Linked DNA regions of Homo sapiens: all the other regions are linked to region 4. Evidence: promoter capture Hi-C in 16 types of primary human blood cells and fetal thymus (Javierre and others, 2016). All regions are on one chromosome and are shown on one strand. Each heading gives the region's core, a stretch centred on a gene start or on the middle of the fragment in contact. The rest is flanking DNA. Distances are from core to core; before and after follow the strand shown.

What was found. Contacts are between HindIII fragments. The CHiCAGO score rates a contact against its expected background, and 5 or more counts as called.
Region 1: a fragment that was not itself captured here is called in contact with the fragment with the promoter of CCDC174 in region 4 in 7 of 17 cell types (non-activated CD4 T cells, fetal thymus, naive CD4 T cells and 4 more); the score reaches 13.5 in non-activated CD4 T cells.
Region 2: a contact is called between a fragment that was not itself captured here and the fragment with the promoter of CCDC174 in region 4, in 1 of 17 cell types (total B cells). The highest score is 5.5, in total B cells.
Region 3: a contact is called between the fragment with the promoter of RAF1 here and the fragment with the promoter of CCDC174 in region 4, in 5 of 17 cell types (non-activated CD4 T cells, naive B cells, total CD4 T cells and 2 more). The highest score is 9.5, in non-activated CD4 T cells.
Region 5: a contact is called between a fragment that was not itself captured here and the fragment with the promoter of CCDC174 in region 4, in 3 of 17 cell types (activated CD4 T cells, naive CD4 T cells and total CD8 T cells). The highest score is 6.0, in activated CD4 T cells.
Region 6: a fragment that was not itself captured here is called in contact with the fragment with the promoter of CCDC174 in region 4 in 5 of 17 cell types (activated CD4 T cells, fetal thymus, naive CD4 T cells and 2 more); the score reaches 7.7 in activated CD4 T cells.
Region 7: a fragment that was not itself captured here is called in contact with the fragment with the promoter of CCDC174 in region 4 in 1 of 17 cell types (naive CD4 T cells); the score reaches 5.5 in naive CD4 T cells.

The regions. Positions count from the first base shown.
Region 1 is chr3:12,809,943-12,812,642 of GRCh38, forward strand. It overlaps CAND2 (cullin associated and neddylation dissociated 2 (putative)), which reads left to right. Exons shown (of 15, transcript NM_001162499.2): 5 at 117-382. Among named protein-coding and RNA genes, the nearest start is that of CAND2, 15 kb to the left of the region's middle. RefSeq lists a silencer at 145-594. The HindIII fragment of the contact is 687 bases long and covers 940-1,626 here.
Region 2 is chr3:16,266,529-16,269,228 of GRCh38, forward strand. OXNAD1 (oxidoreductase NAD binding domain containing 1) reads left to right here. Exons shown (of 9, transcript NM_138381.5): 2 at 2,598-2,700. Among named protein-coding and RNA genes, the nearest start is that of OXNAD1, 2.7 kb to the left of the region's middle. The HindIII fragment of the contact is 443 bases long and covers 1,224-1,666 here.
Region 3 is chr3:12,662,681-12,665,380 of GRCh38, forward strand. RAF1 (Raf-1 proto-oncogene, serine/threonine kinase) reads right to left here and starts at 1,437. Exons shown (of 17, transcript NM_002880.4): 1 at 1,133-1,437. RefSeq lists enhancers at 519-1,129, 1,130-1,741, 1,353-1,702, 1,743-1,812 and a silencer at 943-1,162. The HindIII fragment of the contact is 11,087 bases long and covers 87-2,700 here.
Region 4 is chr3:14,650,483-14,653,196 of GRCh38, forward strand. CCDC174 (coiled-coil domain containing 174) reads left to right here and starts at 1,280. Exons shown (of 11, transcript NM_016474.5): 1 at 1,280-1,396. The coding sequence starts at 1,355. LOC124909347 (a long non-coding RNA gene) reads right to left here and starts at 1,639. Exons shown (of 2, transcript XR_007095826.1): 1 at 1,187-1,639; 2 at 1-744. RefSeq lists enhancers at 821-1,479, 983-1,382, 1,523-1,592. The HindIII fragment of the contact is 1,793 bases long and covers 1,052-2,714 here.
Region 5 is chr3:13,015,433-13,018,132 of GRCh38, forward strand. The region is part of intron 1 of IQSEC1 (IQ motif and Sec7 domain ArfGEF 1); the gene reads right to left. Among named protein-coding and RNA genes, the nearest start is that of IQSEC1, 57 kb to the right of the region's middle. RefSeq lists enhancers at 1-478, 479-1,246, 532-631, 1,252-1,361, 1,823-2,622 and 1 more. The HindIII fragment of the contact is 4,132 bases long and covers 1-2,700 here.
Region 6 is chr3:12,965,522-12,968,221 of GRCh38, forward strand. The region is part of intron 1 of IQSEC1 (IQ motif and Sec7 domain ArfGEF 1); the gene reads right to left. Among named protein-coding and RNA genes, the nearest start is that of LINC02022, 82 kb to the left of the region's middle. RefSeq lists silencers at 1,933-1,982, 2,093-2,512 and an enhancer at 2,663-2,700. The HindIII fragment of the contact is 2,939 bases long and covers 1-2,700 here.
Region 7 is chr3:12,834,066-12,836,776 of GRCh38, forward strand. CAND2 (cullin associated and neddylation dissociated 2 (putative)) reads left to right here. Exons shown (of 15, transcript NM_001162499.2): 15 at 1-738. RPL32 (ribosomal protein L32) reads right to left here. Exons shown (of 4, transcript NM_000994.4): 4 at 420-2,158. The coding sequence ends at 2,029. Among named protein-coding and RNA genes, the nearest start is that of SNORA7A, 5.0 kb to the right of the region's middle. The HindIII fragment of the contact is 762 bases long and covers 965-1,726 here.

The DNA of each region.
Region 1 (2,700 bases), core at 33-2,532, 1.8 Mb before region 4:
CCATTGAGTTGCCATAATCCTGGGAAGGAGGCCGGGAGAGAATGGGGAGAGGGGCGGAGCCTGGCCCAGGTTGCCCGCGGAGTGCGATCGGCCTGATGCCCCCTCGTGCTCCCCAGGCTGGGTGTCCCGCTGGGCGCCTTCCACGCCAGCCTCCTGCACTGTCTGCTGCCACAGCTGAGCAGCCCGCGCCTGGCGGTGCGCAAGCGGGCGGTCGGAGCGCTTGGCCACCTGGCGGCCGCCTGCAGCACCGACCTCTTCGTCGAGCTCGCTGACCACCTACTGGACCGGCTGCCCGGCCCGCGGGTGCCCACCAGCCCGACTGCCATCCGCACCCTGATCCAATGTTTGGGCAGCGTCGGCCGCCAGGCCGGCCACCGCCTCGGTAAGGGGGCAGGGGGCGGGGCCTGGGCTGGCATGGTGGGCGGAGCTTAGGGTGAGCCAATGACTCGGTAAAGGGGCGGAGCTTGGGCCGCAGTGCAGCCAGGGCCTAAGGGTGGGCCGTCTGCCTTGGTAGGGAGGATGGGGCGGGGCCTGGGCTGATGTGGTGGGTGGGGCCTGGGGCGGGCGGCTGAAGCCCCTGAAACGCAGAGGTTGGGGCCGGATAGGGCTTGAGAGGCGCAGGGCGGGCCCTGAGCTCGACAAACCCCCAGGCCTGAGCCCCTGCTGAGTGCAGACGGTTCAGAGAAGGGGGTTGGTTCAATCACTTATGAGACGTGGAGGCTGGCTGGTAATTACAATTTTAAGTCATGCCACTAAACTGTTAGACTATGTTCTCTTCTCCCAGTTTGACAAAGATATCTTAGTAACAGCCCATGAGCCAAGTTTGAATTTTTAAGAAACAATTTAATGTGCATACAATAAACCGCACTATTTAAAGTGTGCAATTCAGTGTGTTTTGACCTTTGTGTATATCCGTGAAACCTTTCCATCACCCCCAAAAGCTTCCTTGTGTCCGTTTGCAGTCCAGCTCTCTGCCTTGTCCAGGAAGCCACTGATCTGCTTTCTGTCACTATAGATTAGTTTTTTAGAAATGGAAAGCTGCAATCAGGTTTGAATGTATCCTCAGACACCTTGGAGTTCTGACTATACCAAGACAGTTTGGATAGAACTGGCATATGGTCAGCCCCTCCCAACCCCTGGCTCTCTCACTGCAAGGGGCCTTGCAGGCACACGGCGGGGGGTGGGGGGGGGAACCCCAGCTGACATGGCCACACCCTGTCCCATTTCTCCCAAACAGCAGCCAGCCCTCAGCCATCCTTGGTTGCATGGACCTAGGAAAGAGGCCTGCGCAGGCTCGGACAAGGGGTCAGGATCCATTGGGCAGGAAACTCGGGTCCCCAGATACCCAGACAGAATGGAGTCTAGGAGTGTTGGGGGTCTCTAGGTCAGCATGTCTCTTCTTATGCTGTAGGGAAGGGTATGGCTGGAGAAGGGCTTGAGTGGAGTGCTCTAAAGCCTGGAGACCAGGCAGGAACCCCTCTTGCCTGGTCTATTAGGGCAGTACCTGCCTCCCTTTCTCCTATCCAAGGACTTAAACCTAGTGAAGGAAATTAGGCCAGGACATGAATAATGGTTTTGATAACAGATGCTATTTATCGAGTGCCTGCTCGTGTAGAACCTGGACTAAGCTTTTTTATTTATTTTTTTGAGACGGAGTCTCGCTCTGTTGCCCAGGCTGGAGTGCAATGGTGCAGTCTCGGCTCACCGCAACCTCCGCCTCCCGGATTCAAGTGATTCTCCTGTCTCAGCCTCCTGAGTAGCTGGCACTACAGGCGCACGCTACCATACCCAGCTAATTTTTGTATTTTTAGTAGAGACGGGGTTTAACTATGTTGGTTGGCCAGGTTGGTCTTGAACCCCTGACCTTGTGATCCCATGATCTGCCCGCCTCGGCCTCCCAAAGTGCTGGGATTACAGGGGTGAGCCACTGCACCCAACCTTGGACTAAGCTTTTTTAACTTCTTTTTTTTTTTTCTTTTTGAGACTGAGTCTCGTGTCTTGCTCTGTTTCCCAGGCTGGAGTGTAGTGGCACGATCTCTGCTCACTGTAACCTCCACCTCCCAGGTTCAAGCAATTCTGCCTCAGCCTCCCAAGTAGCTGGGATTACAGGGGCGCACTGCCACGTGCAGCTAATTTTTGTATTTTTAGTAGAGATGGAGTTTCACCATGTTGGCCAAGCTGGTCTCGAACTCCTGACCTCAGATGATCCATCTGCCTTGGCCTCCCAAAGTGCTGGGATTACAGGTGTGAGCCACCATGCCCGGCCTAAGCTGTTTATCTTTTTTTTTTTTTTTTTTTGGAGATAGAATCTCGCTCTGTCCCCCAGGCTGGAGTACGGTGACGCTATCTTGTCTCACTGCAACCTCCACCTCCCAGGTTCAAGCAATTCTCCTGCCTCAGCCTCCTGAATAGCTGGGACTACAGGTGTGTGCCACCGTGCCCGGCTAATTTTTTTTTTTTTTTTTTTTTTTTTGAGACGGAGTCTCGCTCTGTCGCCCAGGCCAGACTGCGGACTGCAGTGGCGCAATCTCGGCTCACTGCAAGCTCCGCTTCCCGGGTTCACGCCATTCTCCTGCCTCAGCCTCCTGAGTAGCTGGGACTACAGGCGCCCGCCACCGCGCCCGGCTAATTTTTTGTATTTTTAGTAGAGACGGGGTTTCACCTTGTTAGCCAGGATAGTCTCGATCTCCTGACCTCATG
Region 2 (2,700 bases), core at 195-2,694, 1.6 Mb after region 4:
GAAGGCAGAGATTGCAGTGAGCTGAGATCACGCCACTGCACTCCAGCCTGGGCGACAGAGCTAGACGCTGTCTCAAAAAAAAAAAAAAAAAAAAAAAAGAAGTAGGTCATAATTGTATAATGCAAACTATATTTGATGAGTGCTGTTGTATATCAGGCCAGAAGGAGTTGTTTATTGGCAATACCAAACCTCCACCTCTCTAGGTTGTTTGACAAGGAAGAGAAGGGGTCAATGTATTAGGATTGATTTTAGTAACACTGTTGCTTGCCAGGTACTTTGGTAGACATTTTATTTATTCCTCTCAGTAATCCAGTGAGGTGGCGTGGGTAATGTTAAAATGGCAAGAGGAGACTTGCTGAAGATTAGAAAGCAGGAAGGAGTCACACCTGAGCCCAGTTCCGCTGATTTCCGGTCAAATACTCTGTGTATACTACTTGTTTACCACTAAGGTGTCTTTGCCTGTTGGAGCAAGAGGAGCCCTTTTTCTTCCTCAGTGACACCTAAGATTCTAAATTGACAGATGTCATGATTGTTCTTTGAACTTACTTAATTTCAGTGCATTTATGCTTATTGAGGCATTCTTGGCTTTTCTCTGTCAGTGTCCTCTCACACCCTGCCTAATGTATCAGCAAGTTTTGGGGCTCTAATTCCAAAATATATGTCATGTTCATCTACTTCTGCCATCTCTGTAGCTGTTACCTTATTATAATCTTAGACCAGAGTCTTTTAACTGGGTTTCCTGCTTCCACTCCTGCCCCTCTCCCTCTGTTATCCTTCCCACAGCAACTTGAGCAGTCCTTTAAAAATATAAATTAGGTCTTGTCCTTCTCCTGATTGATTCAGACTTTTCAGTTGCTTCCCATTACCCTTAGGATAAAATTCTTACCCTTACTATAGACTGCTGGACTTCATCTCATTTCACTCTTACCAGCTTACTGCTCTCCAGTCACACTGGCCTTGGTTCCTTTAACATGCCGGGCTTATTTCTGTGTTGGACCTTTGCTCTTGCTAGTCCTTCTGCCAGAGTTGTCTGCCTTTAACATTTGCTTGGCCGCCTTTTCCTCATCATTCAGATCTCAGCCAAGGTGTCATCACTGGAGAGATGTCTTTCTTGATATTTCCCCCACCTACCCCATCACTCTTACTCCCTTTATCATACTCATCATAATCTATAATTATCTTGTTATTTGTTTACTACTATCTGTCTCTGGAACTGTAATAAAAGCTTCATGATGGCAAGGGCCTTGCGTCTGGTTCTTTATTATATCTCCAAGGCCTAAAATAGTGCCTGGCACCCCTGTAGTTGTTGAATGAACTGAGTATACCTGTTGAACTGAAACCATATAATTAATCTTAAATGTTAAATTTAATCTGTTGCTTTCAGAAGTTTGTTTTACTACATATTTAATGGGTGTCAGTTTTATTTAGCACTTATTATACTTTTCTGCATTTCAGAAATAAAGTTAATTAAGATTTTTTGGTAAGGGAAGGCCTGTGAGGATACAGACATTGATGGGATGGTCTACTTTATATGGTTTTAGAAATAACTTGATATATATTGATCTGCTGTGGTTGATTAAATGCTTACAGTATGGAACCGCCGGACATATTTCAAAAAATTAGTAGGTTTTAAATTTTTTATATTTTATTTAAAGGACTGGCATAAAGCTTTGGAAAGCACTTTAAACAGAATTTTATAAAAATGTCCTTTATTTACCAGTAGGTGGCACTCTTGGTCATGGTTACTTTCACAAAATAAAATCTTAGGATTTTAAAGAGAACTCCTTTTTTTTTTTTTTTTTTTTTTTTTTTTTTTTTGAGACTGAGTTTCGCTCTTGTTGCCCAGGCTGGAGTGTAATGGCATGATCTTGGCCCACTGCAACCTCCGCCTCCCAGGTTCAAGCGATTCTCTTGCCTCAGCCTCCTTAGTAACTGGGATTATAGGCGCCCGACACCACACCTAGCTAATTTTTTGTATTTTTAGTAGAGATGGGGTTTCACCATGTTGACCAGGCTGGTCTCAAACTCCTGACCTCAGGCGATCTACCCACCTCATCCTCCCAAAGTGCTGGGATTACAGATATGAGCCACTGTGCCCGGGAAGAACTACTTTTAAAATTAACATTTGTTTTCCAGTTCAGTTGAGAAGGGGACCATTCAAACAGCATAATCATTAAATGATGTATCCTATTGTGAGGACAACTTATTTTAGCAATAGTTGTCTAAAACATTGAACAGAACAGTATTTCCATATTTAACAATATAGTGGTTAAATTTTATCAGGGAACTTGGCCTTAAATGACATGTAACTGTGTCATTCTAGCCTTTGGTCTGCTGTTTCCTGGGGTGGATATCCTAAGTAGCAGGTGTTAAAGACAGGCAAGGAAGATGAACAAAATAAGCTGTAAGATAAATAATCAAAAAAGAAAAATGGAAGCATGGAGGAAAGAATGGATGGAGAGGGGGTAATTGAGAGTGGGCTTGTTGTGAGGTGATGCCTACTGATTTTAATGAGCCTTTCCTTTGGCAGCTAAGAGGTAATAGTGCTTTTGATCAGTTCCCCAAAACATTGTTATATGTTGTTTGTGCCATTGCAGGAACTTTGTGAGAATTTTAATGCATGGAAAAGCTGTCCATGTTCCAACTGCTGTACATCCAAAAGTCTCAGTGTAATAGCAGGACCAAAATATTCTGTCAATC
Region 3 (2,700 bases), core at 187-2,686, 2.0 Mb before region 4:
AGCTGTTCCCTGAGCTCCTCCTCACCCGATGAGCACTTACTCACAGGTGTTTCAAAACTCGACTCAGAAGTCTCCTCGAGTGTAGAAGCTTCCTCAACTCCTCCCCAAGCAAAACTAACTGTTCTAAATCCCCATAACACTTGATAAGCCAATTCTTATCACACTGCATTGTTTTCACGCCTTAGGAGCGCAGGGAGGGCAGAGTCTCTCCACTCAGCCCACAGAGGACCAGGCAAGCAGAAACGCTCAATGAACGTGCCTTGAATTCATTTTCCACTTAGATTAAGTGACCCCCTAGAACCCGTTCACATCTCAAGGATACACTAAGTTCCATTCCTTCTTCCCACCACAGAATGAATACCAGGGGCACACCCAGAGCCCTAGAACGAGAACAATGAATGAACACGGCCGCCTCGCCTCTCACGACGTCCAAACCCCTCTCTCTTGGGCATCGACTCGCTCGCAGAGCCTCAGCAGCTGCAGAGCTGAAGCGTCCCGGCGGCTCTCGCGTCACACAAAAGACAGCCCTGGCTCTTCATTCCAAAGCGTCCTGAGGCCAATCCTCTATAAGTATCCCAAACCTTTCATTAATAACCCAGAGTCCTGATACCCAAGGCTAGTCCTGATACCCAAGAAGAGGCCCCTGTGCCTTTGTGGTAGGGCACTGGCCAGTTTCCTCCTCTCTTACCCGATTCCTCACGTCGTCTCTAAAAGGGTGTCACTTGACTGAAGTACCCTGAGAAAGGGTGCAAGCCCGGGTCCCACATTCGGCGGCCCAAGAGAAAAGGAATTGGCCCATCCAAGTGACAACAGATATGGGGCAGCTCTGGGCGGATTTTCCCACTGCCAAATATGAGGAATGCGCATGGCATAAGGGTGGCGTTGGCACGTTTCCGCCAAACACAAGGAAATTTGAGTGGGATGTGGGAACTCGGCTCGCCGGCCATGACACCGGACTCCGGGGCCCCCGCCCAACGCTACCCCAGGGTGACAACGGCCTGGCCCAAGCCCTCTGCCCGGCAGCCGCGGGGCCGCTCCATCAGCGCCACCCAGGCCCGGTCGCCCTGGAAGCCGATCCCTCAGCCCCGCCGCCCGGCTCCCCCGGCATCCACGACCCGGTCCTGCCACCTACCTGAGGGAGCCAGGCCGCCCCAACGTCCTGTCGTTCGGCGGCAGCTTCTCGCCCGCTCCTCCTCCCCGCGGCGGGTGAGGGAGCGGGAGGCGGTCACATTCGGCGCGTCCCCAGCCCAGGGGACGGAGCCCCGAGCAGCCCCCGCATCGTAGCAAACGCGCTCCGCGCCTCAGGGCACGCGCCCCAAAGCCCGGCCAGCTGACCCTTTTCGGGGCCCAAAAAAGGCAGCAGAAAGCCGTTCCCGCCTCACAATCGTTTTCCTCTTACTCCCGCCATCTAAGATGGCGGCCCAAGCGCCCGCGATTAAGACTCTCGGGCGGCCCAGACGAGCGAGCCCTCGACTCGGTGCTCGTCCTCCCGACCTGCGACGCCACCGGCTCTCCGATTCTGCGCGAGCCCTACTGGCAGTCGACTTCTAACTTGGCTCGGGCATCCATCGCTCTGGCCTGAACTCAGGCCCCGCCCCCGGGGCGTGGCCTAGCGATCTGGTGGCCGCCATTTCGAAGCTGAAGAGGTTAGGCGACGCTGACTTGCTTTCAGGAGAGGCACTCGGTAATCGAGAAGAACCGGCTTTCGGCCAGCCAGGAGTGGCCAGAGGCCTAGAAGGGGAGAGGAAGGCCTGCCTGCCCAGCATTGCAAGGCCCAGCGATCACCAGACGTGCCTCAGGACACAGGGCACAGTGTCCAACTTTGACGCGTCCTCTCCGGGCACTTTAATACCAAATCACGGCTCCGCCACTTGACAGCTATGTGGACAGTCCCTGAACCTTAAACGGTCTTTTCCTTGTGTGTAAATTCCGAGTTCATTTTTCCCCCATCACATTAGCAACAAGTTAAAAAAACTGATAATATCCGGTTTGGTCCAAGGTATATTGAAACCTGTTGTGTGCCCTCGCAGCGCTATCACAGTGGAACTTGGACATGTTAAAAGTATATATCCTTCCTCCCGGCAGTTTCACTTCTAGACACTAATTCTAGAGAAATAAGTATACACATACACAAAAAGCTATGTGTGAAGATATTTAATGCCATATTATTTGCATTCTGGAGAAACACTGGGGATGAAATGAAGATTAATAGGAAACTGGTTAAGAGAACGCTGCTACACATCCAATCTGGGTTGTCATCCATCCAAGAATGAACTAGATAGTTACTGAATTTAAAAAACAACAAAAAAAGGGCCCGGCGCTTTTTTTGGGATTACTCCTGTAATCCCAGCACTTTGGAAGGCCGAGGCAGGCGGATCACCTGAGGTCGGGAGTTCGAGACCAGCCTGACCAACATGGAGAAACCCCGTCTCTACTAAAAATACAAAAATTAGCCGGGCGTGGTGGCGGGCGCCTGTAATCCCAGCTACTCAGGAGGCTGAGACAGGAGAATCGCTTGAACCCGGGAGGCAGAGGTTGCAGTGAGCCCAGATCGCACCATTACACTCCAGCCTGGGCGACAGAGCGAGACTCCGTCTCGAAAAAATAAATAAATATAAAAAAATAAAAATACCAAATTAGCTGGGCATGGTGGTGCATGCCTGTCATCCCATCTACTCGGGAGGCTAAGGCAGGAGAATT
Region 4 (2,714 bases), core at 30-2,529:
AGGCATGTGGTCCCACTCTCCCTCTTCAAAGCATCTCTGATCTCTGTCTGACTCTGGCCATCCTGTCTACCCCTTATAAGGATGGTTTTGATGATAGGGGACCCACCTGCACAATCCAGGCTAGCTCCCCATCTCAATCGCTTTAATTTCATCATCTCTGCCAATTCTCTTTTGCTATATAAAGGTCACCATATACCCAGATTCTGGGGATTAGAAGGTAGACATCTGGGAGTCGGGGTGAGGGTGATTGGTCTGTCTACCATAATCATTAACATTTTTATCAAGACTAGCTCATTTAACTCATCTAATCCTCACTAAGACCCATTAGGTAAATAAAATTATATCCCCCTTTGGAAACTGAGGCACACGGAAGTTAAGTAACTTGCCCAAGGTCACACAAGCAGTAAGCCGTGAAGAGCGATTCCAACCCAGAAAGTCAGCTTTCGAGTTCACGTGTTCTTTGTTTTTTTTTTTTTTGATCTCGACTCACTGCAACCTCCACCTCCCAGGTTCAAGCGATTCTTCTGCCTCAGCCTCCTGAGTAGCTGGGAATACAGGCGCGCACCACCACGCTCGGCTAATTTTTTTTTTTTCTTGTATTTTCAGCAGAGACGGGGTTTCACCATGTTGGTCAGGCTGGTCTCAAACTCCTGACCTCCTGATCCACCCGCCTCAGCCTCCCAAAGTGCTGGGATTACAGGCGTGAGCCACCGCGCCCGGCCCAGGAGTTCACGTTCTTAAGAGCTGAAATATGTAAAGTGGCCCATAATAAGCACTACATTAATGTTAGCTATTATTCTTGTTATTTCTACTAAGATTAATATAATAATCCTTATCTCGTACGCTCTTTTAAGAACCAACTATTTAACGTGTGAAAAGTGCCAGGCAGCAGGTCCTGGAATTGCAGTTAAGATTCTTCCGGTCCTCCCAATCCACCTTTCCCGAGACGCTCGAGTTCACTTACTTAAGCGTCAGCCTTCCCCAAGATGGCGTTATCTTTGTCGCCAACCCCACATCCGCCCCACCCAATATGGCGTCCATCGCAATCAAAAGCTTTATTCCGCCCTTCTCAAGATGGCGCCCACACCAATCCTTGTTACCTTCCGCCCTCAAGATGACCTTAGCAGTTAGCGTCAACCTCCGCACTCTATGACCTTTCCAAAATGATGGTGAACGTAATACGCACCACACTCTGACCTTCTCAAGATGGCGCTGAGCTGACAAACTCGCGTCGCAAACTCACGCAAACTCAGTGTCGCTGTCGAAGACACTTCCGGTTGCGACGGAGGTAGGCTTACGAGGCCTGTGTCGGGTAGAAAGGGTCCTTCCTGGACCGGGACCCTCTGCCACGACCATGGACCGTAGGAAAAAGCCTTTGGACGTCACGGCCTCCTCGGTGAGTGAGGGTATGAGGTAACTCCACGGGCTCCGGGTTCACCGTGTCTCCATCAGACAAGAATGTCGACCTAGCTTGTTTCTTCACTCGGGGACCCAGAGACCTGACCTCTCCCCTCAAACAGGAACCCCCGAACTGGATTTTCTTCTCCGGCGGGGATCCGGTTCAGTTTTCTTACAGGACCCTGAATTGGGCTACTCTCCTCTGACATGCGCCCGGGCCAGAACCCTCGGACACGGATCTGAACCTGGTGTCCCGTGGGTTAGGAAACTCCGTGCCTCACCTCTGCCCTGCCCACAAGGACCTGCACCTCGTCAGCCTTCTCCCTTACAGTCAGGAGGAACCCTAGCTTCTTTTTGCTATGCAGACATATCCTCTTCCTGGTTTCTCCTCCATCCAGGGACCCACAAAGTCCTCCCAGAACTTTAGAGTGTGACATATTTCGCAGGACCCGAAAGTGTCCAGCGTGCCCTCCCTGGAACTAAACAGTTGTTAATGCAGGCATAGGGAGTTGTGAGGTCTGAAAGGATGTAAGCAGATTTATTACATCAGCTACTCTAGAAAGAAAACTTGTTCTAAGTACACATTTTGTGCCAGCACTTTATATGCACTATCTCATTGAATCCTCCCAATGGCTTTAGGAGGTAGGTGCTATTAATATCTCCGTTTTATGGATGATGAAATTGAGGCCTGGAAAGATGAAGTAGCTTTCCCCAGCTTACAGACAGAAATCTTAGTGATAGCCGGGCGCGGTGACTCACGCCTGTAATCCCAACACTTTGGGAGGCTGAGGCGGGCAGATCACCTGAGGTCGGGAGTTTGAGACCAGTCTGACCAACATGGAGAAACCCCGTCTCTACTAAAAATAAAAAAATTAGCCGGGCGTGGTGGTGCACGCCTGTAATCCCAGCTACTCGGGAAGCTGAGGCAGGAGAATCGCTTGAACCGGGGAGGCGGAGGTTGCGGTGAGCCGAGATCGCGCAATTGCACTCCAACCTGGGCAACAAGAGCGAAACTCCGTCTAAGGGGCGGGGGGCGGGGGGAAGAAATCTTAGTGATAGACCCTTTCTCACTCACTCTACTTGACTCCAAAGCTGCTGCCTTTTCATCATCAGAGCAAATTGCCCAACCTTTGATTTAATCTTGAATTTACTTCAGAGTATTAGGACACAAAGTGAGTAGGAAGGAAAACATATAGGTGTCCCAATATTTGAGTACTAGTTATTATTGGTAACTATTATTGGTTAAAATTGGTACCAGTTATTATTTTGTTTGAAGATCAGGAACCAGAAAGCTATAAATATTAAAGCCAACCTAT
Region 5 (2,700 bases), core at 58-2,557, 1.6 Mb before region 4:
GAATACAGCTCTGAGAAACAGTGAAAACTCTGACGACAGCCCCCAAGACCCTCACCACGGCAGGCTGCCCTGACAGTCGCCAGCCCCTCACAGGTTTCTCAGGGCTGCTGAGGTCCCCTCCCCGGGCCAGGTGGGTGGTACTCACAGTCTCAAAGTGGAGGGGGCGGAGGTGTCCCTGGAACCCCAGTGCCTGGCCTGCCTCTGCGGCCCCGGGGGATGAGCTGTGGGTCCATCCCCACAGCAGGTCCTGACGTCTGACTTCCTCCCTGCTCAGTCGGCATCCAGGAAACCACACCCAGGGGAGAGGGTGCCAGGCACCCTGGGGCCCCCGCCCACCTGCCCTCCAAAAGGCCCCCAGGCACTGCTGAGGGGGCTCCTTCCAGGTCTGGCAAACCCAAATGGCTTCACTGGGCAGGCCCCAGTCAATAAATAATACACCCACCTCCCTGGACAGTCTCTGGTGCCTGATCGTGTTTCAGGGCCACTTAAGTTCCAGGCAGACTGCTTTGTTCAGAGTGCCGGGCCCCTTCTGGGTCTCTGGCCACATGGGCACTGCACTGTCACGGAGGGCCAGCTGGAGCCAGCAGCATAAAGTAGTGTGACAGGGGTCCCTGGAGAGAGGGTGCCCTACTTACTTAGCAGCTTGGGCCCAAAGGGGACCCAGGGGTGGTGCCAGGGTAGGGTGGCCAGTCTCGTCTCCCCATGGCCAGGCAGGGCCCCCCACATCCCCCACAGGGGTGCCATCTGGAGAGCCGCCACCAGCCCATCCTGACATTGCCAGTGTCCGGGCCCAGGCCCCTCCTCCAGGAAGCCTCCTCTCCGCCAGGAGTGCTCTGTCCCTGTCTGAATTCCCACTGCAACCGCCAGCCAGTCTGTCTGTCTCCTTCTTTGGGTCTCAATTGTCATCTCTCATCTAAACAGTGGCCGGCCGCCACATCTCAACCGGCCTTCCCTGCCCCCAACGCCCCACCACTCCCTCTCCACAGTCTCATTTCCTCACAGCAGCCCGGGTGACGGTTTTAAAACAGAAAGCACAGCAATGTTACCCAGCCGTGGCTCTCCCGCCCCAGTCAACTTTCAAGCCCTCTCCAGGATCTGGCCCTGCCACCACGGGGACTGCTCCTCCCGCCCTCTCGACTCCTGCCAGCCTCCTCCTCTGTGCTCCTCCTGCAGGTGCACACAGACCTCAGGGTCCTTACACCAGCTGCTCTCTCTGCCTGCTCTTCCCCAAGGTCCTCACAAACTCACTCCACCCTGTCACTCTCAACGCAAGGCCACCACTGCAGACGAGTCTTTGTTTTCTTTTCAAACAGTCTTATTAAGATATAATTCACACACCATACAACTCACCCATTTAAAATGTATAGTTCAATGATTTTATTAATAGTATATTCCCAGAGGGGTGCAACTGTCACCACTATCTATGTTTAGCATATTTTCATCACTCAAAAAGAACCCCTCCCCAGCCCTGGATCACGGCAAACCTACCTCCCGTCTCTATAGATTTGCCTGTTCTGGACATTTCCTAGAAACGGGACCATACGCTCTGTGGTCTTCCGTCTGGCTTCTTTCACTTAGCATGATGTCCTCAAGGTTCACCTGTGCTGTAACACGTGCCAGAACTTCATTTCTTTTTGTGGCTGAATAATATTCCACACTATGGACAGACCACATTGTGTTTATCTATTCATCCACTGACGGCCACTGGGAGAGGCCCTTCTTGACCTCCCCAGGCCATGTGGCTCCCTCTCCCCGATCACTCTGTCATCCCTCCCTGTTTTATTTTCTTGGCACCGATCTTTGCCTGAAGGCATCTTCATTTGTTTATTTTCTCTTTATCATTTCTCTCTCACCTGAACATCTATCTGCTCCAGGAGGCCTGAGTGTCCACCTCACTCACTGCTGTATCCCCAGGGTCTAGCCCGGGGCAGCAAACAATAGGTGCTCAGCAAACTACTTGCTGATCAGCGGAAGAAAGCCTCTTCCCATGTGTCAGAGTGGCTCATGCCCATGCCGCCTTGCTGCTGGGCTCTGAGCTCTCGGCGACAAGTGCTGCCCTGTGGTGCTTGCCAAGAAGAGCCTCACCCACAACTCCGGTGAGGAAACCAGTAACGCAAAGCCTTGGACTCAGGTCCTCCTCTGTGCTGTGGGACAGTGCTCCTCACAGGGTGGGCGCTAGCTGGCTGGATGTGGGAATGGATAGTTAGCACCTGGCACAGTGTCAGGCACAGAGTAGGTCTTCATCCCCTGAACGAAGACTCGATGCAGGGAGAGGGGGCGGCAGTCACTAGCAGAGATGGGAACCGAGGAGAGGGAGGTGAGGCTGGCAGGGCTGAGGCAATGGTGAGGCCCACGGGTGAAAGGGGAAAGCAGCCATAAGGGAATTTATGTGTGCTCCAGGCAGTGCCCAGAGCCAGAGAAGTGGCGGCTCTGCTCTGCTCTGCCCAGGACCTCCTGCCCATCCCAAACTCAGCTCTGGGCTCTTCCCGGAGATAGACAGCACGAGCCAGGGTGTGTCCAGAAGGCGTGGGTGGGGAGGAGGCTGGTGACCCCTTCCTCAGCCTCAGGGAGTCCTGGTCTCTGCAGGCTGTCCAGAGCTGGGGAGCAGATGGGTTGTGAGGCTCAGAGGACAGGGCCAGGCCACTTCAGTGTGTGGGTGGGTGGCAGCGAGCACCGCAGGAAGGATGGTGCCAGTTCCAA
Region 6 (2,700 bases), core at 164-2,663, 1.7 Mb before region 4:
TGAGGCTGATGCGTGAACTATGGGCTACACCTGAGCGAGGCTTCTCAACCTCCAAGACCTCTGCCTCATGTTCTGAGACTGGGGGAGCAGCTGTTCATCACCAACCCAGACCACAGAAGGATCCAAGCAGGCTTCCCTGAAGCTGGAAGATTGAGATGAGATGCCCGGAGGGACTTCTAATGAGAAGGGATGTGGGACTGAGAAGTATGCAAGAGAGGTGGCCTGGACATGTCAACTGGAATGGTCCTAATGGAGGGGCAGAAACCCCTCCCCAGTTACTTTCAGCTCAGAGGGAGGCGGGAGGTGCAGCCAGGAGAGCACGCTAATGGTTTCTTGTTCCCCACTAGACTGCTGGTTCCATGAGGACAAAGACTCCATGTTTTGTTCACTGCTGTGTCTCTGGTGCCTAGAGCAGGGACTGGTACATAGCAGGCACTCAATAAACCACAGAGCTTTAGTACTGACAAGACTGAATGCTCAGCCTCGATTTGCTCTCCTGCAATATGAGGATGCTGGTACCACAAGGGTAAGAAGCAATTGTAATACCAGGTGGGACAGCTGATGGACTATGAGGGCCGCGGGTGTGTGTGGGATATGAATAACATGACCCCCATGTCCAGACTGCTGCCACTGATTCCAGACAGATGGTCTTGCAGCTGCAGCATGCCTGGCCTCCACCCCAGATGCAAGGAGCAATGGGGTCCTTGAGAAGCCCCCCAACCCCACTTGGAGGCTCAGGCTCAGCGCTCCAGGCCTCTGGGGTGAGGAAGGGGCAGAGGGAGACATATGCATGTTCTCAGTGCAACTGCTGGACATGCGCTGCACAATTTTTGAACTGAAAGATCAAACAGCTCCAGGTGGGCTTCCTCCAGAGGGGGCCTGACATAAGCCAAGTCAGCTTGTCAACAAATCCCCTTAGCCCCACCCCCCTGCTCCTCAGAAGGGCCTGCAGATAGCTCAGGGGGCAGCTGTGCTGGCCATCGCAGAGAGGAAATCAATATTCCCAGCACATACACACACACTCCCTTTCTCCCTTTCTCTCCATAAACACGGGCCCTTGGAAGCTCAGACAGCCGCCCACAGGCCCCTAAGTAGAAAAGGGTTGGCCCCTCTGACACACCAGACTCCATCCCTGACCACACCAGGTGCACACGCATCACCACACAAAGCCCCTCACATCCACACTCTGCCACAAACAGCAGCCACACACCCCAGTGCACCCCCAAGTGGCCCTGCCAGGGGCAGAGTACCCGACAGAAGCTGCTGACACACCTGGGACGCCTGTTTGTTCAGGGTCATCCACCCTCACACACACTTGGGGTCTTGCAGACAGGACAGACACATCAATCCAGACATAGGCCCAATGTCTGGAATAGACAGGCCTGCAAGAGGCCTTCCTGGCAGCTCCGGCCCTGCCTGCAGTTGGAAACAGGCACAGACCCGCTGGGCACCCTCCCACCAACTCTCCGCTCTCCCTCCTGCCCCTCACCTCACACCCACACCGAGTCCCACTGTTTCCCTCTCAAGCCCCCAAACTCAAACTCACCCCCACACCAACTTGCACTCCAACAGGCCCTCGATCACACACACACACTCCCATCCTGAGACCCTCCCAGGGCACACACAGCGCTCCTGTCCCAAGGGCGCGTCTCTCTCTCCCACGCACAAACTCGGGTCCTGTTTGCTCTTCTCTCACCCAAACCCACAGTCTGGCGGACGCACCCCGCCCCGCAGGCAGCTTTCTCTCGCACGCCGGGCGCCCGGTCCCGACGGTCACCCGCACTCCCGCACAGGCATCCCCACAGCCTGCGCCAGCCCACCGCTCAGCACCCGGGAAGGCCGCTCGCCCCGCGCCGCGCCCTCACCCGCTGTCAAGCTCTAGCTCCAGAAGGGACTGGGTCCTCTCCGAGTTGCAGTGCAGGCACCACATGGCGGCCGCAGTGGGAGCGGGCCGGGCCGGGAGCCGGGACCCAGGCCCAGCAGAGGCCGCCGACTCCCGCCAGCGAGCCGCCGGATCCCGGGGCCGACACCCGGCCACCCGGAGACCCGACCACCCGCCACGCGATCACGTCGGGGCTCCTGGTCCAGCGTCCGCCGGCTCCCGCGGCTCCGGCCCCAAGTCCGAGCCCCAGGCCAGCCAAGCCCGCCCCTCCGCCGCCGCCCGCTTGGCGCAGCGCGAGGCCGGGCCGGAGGAATGTGGCCCTGAAGTGGGCGGGGCAGGGCGGGGGCGGGGCCGGAGGGCGAGCTGGGGGCGGGGCCGGAGGGCGAGCTGGGGGCGGGGCTGCGCGCGGGGGCGAGACTGCACGGAGCGTGTGGGGAAGAGAGCACAGGAGGCGTGGCCACACGGCGCCGCGGAAGAAGCACAGGGGGCGGGGGGTCAGGGGCGGGGCGTCAGGGGCGGGGCTACGCGCAGGGGCGGGGCCGAGCCGAGGCGCGGGGTGCAGAGCGCAAGGGCGGAGTCCCAGACACTGCATCCAGGTCCCAGCGCGCGAAGCCTCTGTTCTGGAAGGAGGACTTTGCGCAGCCCCTCCAACACTGGCGCCTCCCGGGAGCCATGTCTTCCTCTCCAGCGTGTAACCACAACAAATGCACAGCGCCAAACCCCCAACCAGAGCCTACTCCGCTGATGCCTACTCAACATCTGCCTATCCCGATTTTGCCTTCAGTTTATAAAACCTGGCCTTTGCCTGCCTGGACCGA
Region 7 (2,711 bases), core at 96-2,595, 1.8 Mb before region 4:
CTCTACTTTTGCCCTTCCACCATCTCACTGGGGGCCCTGTCGCTCCTGGTCAGGGCTTACAGTGCCTTCTCCAGGGACCCAACTCAAAGGCCCCCAGCCCAAGCTGTGAGGCTGCCAACAGTTGGGCCCCTTCCTTAACTCAGGACAGTCATCCAAAGAAATAGGGTGAGGAAGTTTTCCAGTGACTTCACACTGTACCCCTCCATAGTCTGTCTGGTTCCTTCAGAGGGTGTCTCTGCCTCACAAACTAGTAGTATTTAGAAATAGGCTGTGCTGTCAGCTGTAAAAGATCAGGAGGCAGCAGACACCACTCTGGTTTCTTCACTGCATTCAGCAATGCCTGAAGTTAGTGCTCAGGCCGGGCATCTCAAAAGAAAAGATACTTGAGTTATTCACATTTTAAAATTCAAAACGGTTCATTTTTAAGTGGCAGTGATGAATCAGAAATTTGGAAGATGATACGGGTTTCTTTTTTCCAGGGAGGAGGAATGGGTTGGGTAGGGAACTGGACAGGCTTGGACCTCATGTTTCATTTCTAATTTCAAAATACTTATTAGCAAATTGGGCAACAATGGGCATCTTCCATGCCACCACCCAGGCATAACCAGTTGGTTTGTTTCCTTCTGAGGAAGGTTTCAAATGTGTCTAGTGTTCAGTATTGAGGACAAAGAAATACAAGTGGCAGGCCCAAGTATTTTCTGTGATATCCCAGGTTAATAAAGATTAGATTCTAAGTTACTTCTTTCCTCTGCACGACTCGTCTCCAATTGTTAATCGAATCGCCTGAACCCAGGAGGCAGAAGTTGCAGGGAGCCAAGATCAAGCCACTGCACTCCAGCCGGGGTGACAGAATGAGTCTCAAAAACAAAATCCCAAAAATGACCAGTTTGCATTATAAATATTTATGACTAGGTTTTGAACAGGAGACAATCTGTAAGATTCCTGTCTAGACTAGAAGTAGAAAAGCTTTATTATACCCAGCGCAGCATTTCTGCTAAGTTGACCAGGATGGTTACAGAAAAACATCCTGTAAGCATTTCTGTCTCATAAGTACCACATCCCATATCCCTCATGACCTATATACTACAGAAGATGCCTGTAATCCCAGTACTTTGGGAGGCTGAAGCAGGATTGCTTGAGCTCAGGAGTTCGGGAGCCTAGGCAACATGGCTAGACCACCTCTACAAAAAAACTTCAAAAACTACCCAGGTTTGGAGGTGTGCATCTGTAGTCCCAGCTACTTGGAAGGCTGAGGTGGGAAGATCACCTGAGCCTGGGGAGGTCAAGGCTGTAGTCAGTGTGCCACTGCACTCCCAGCCTGGGTGAGAGCAAGACCCCGTCTCCAAAAAAAATCAGGACCACGTGTCACTAAATTCTGAGTACCAGTCAAGAGGCTCAATTGTCACCAGTTAGGTCCCCGCCTTGGCAAACTGCTGTAACATTATACCTGAAGCAGCAGCTGGTGGGAGGGTTATAGGAGACTGAAAGTGCTTTTCCAGTTAACCGTGGTGGATTACCTGGAAGAGCAATTTGTACATCATCCTGTTCTTTTTGGACAGAAGTTACAGGATGCAATTTAGGCATCCCGTAAGAATCTGTGTAAGAAATTCATCTGGATATTTCCATGCATATTTTCTCAATTCTCACAAGCATCACATGGAATAACTTGTCACCTAACTTTACAAAAGCAAGGCTAAGAATGACTACTTGTGGCTTGGGAGCCACAAGCTTCTTCAAGTGTCTCAGAACCTACCTGGTGTGAGGGCCAAGTCTGTACCCCTCATACCCAGCCTCAACTGGAGATGACTAAGGCTAGTCTGTGCACTTGAGGCCACATTCCCCTGTTCAAGGACTGAGTGTCCTTTACAAATCCCCTCCAAATGGGAGATTCCAAAGGGGCTTAAGCAAAAGAACAATCTCTGTGGCAAACTAAGTTGGCCAAGAAGCTGAAGACTTAAAATCAAGGAAGGAAGATGCCAGATGGCAGTTTTTACATTTATTTAAACAGAAAACGTGCACATGAGCTGCCTACTCATTTTCTTCACTGCGCAGCCTGGCATTGGGGTTGGTGACTCTGATGGCCAGTTGGGCAGCTCTTTCCACGATGGCTTTGCGGTTCTTGGAGGAAACATTGTGAGCGATCTCGGCACAGTAAGATCTGCAAGAGAATCAAGTAGGTAAGGAGCAAGACAGCCCTCAACACACTTGGAAAATTCCATTGGAGAGGCAATGAGTCCCAGCACCAAGCTAAGAGAGGGCTGCTTGGTAAGTGGCTGTGGAATGACACCTACATGCCCCCAAATCCTGACTATGGTTCCCTGGTGGTGACAAGAATGCTTTCATTAAAAAGTACCCTCATTGTCCCCTCTCATCCTTATAGCAGCCTTGTAATCCAGGCATTACCTCCATTTTACAGATAAAGAAACCAAGGCCCACAGCAAGCAATGGACAGGGATCCGGGGCGAACCCAGGCCCACACTCCAGGTTCAAAGGTTCTCCCCCAGTCACAGGGTGCTTGACCTTGCCCATGAAGGTTCAGAACTCTTTGCAAAATGGTCAAGAGCAGAACCCAAGAGTCTGAATGGAGCCAAGAGCACCTGGTTTGACTGCTGAGGATACAAAGCAAGTTGAGAAGCAACAATGCTTAAAGTCACCCAGTCATAGCCATGCCTATTACCTGAGGACTTCAGATCCAGTTCTAACTCATTCCT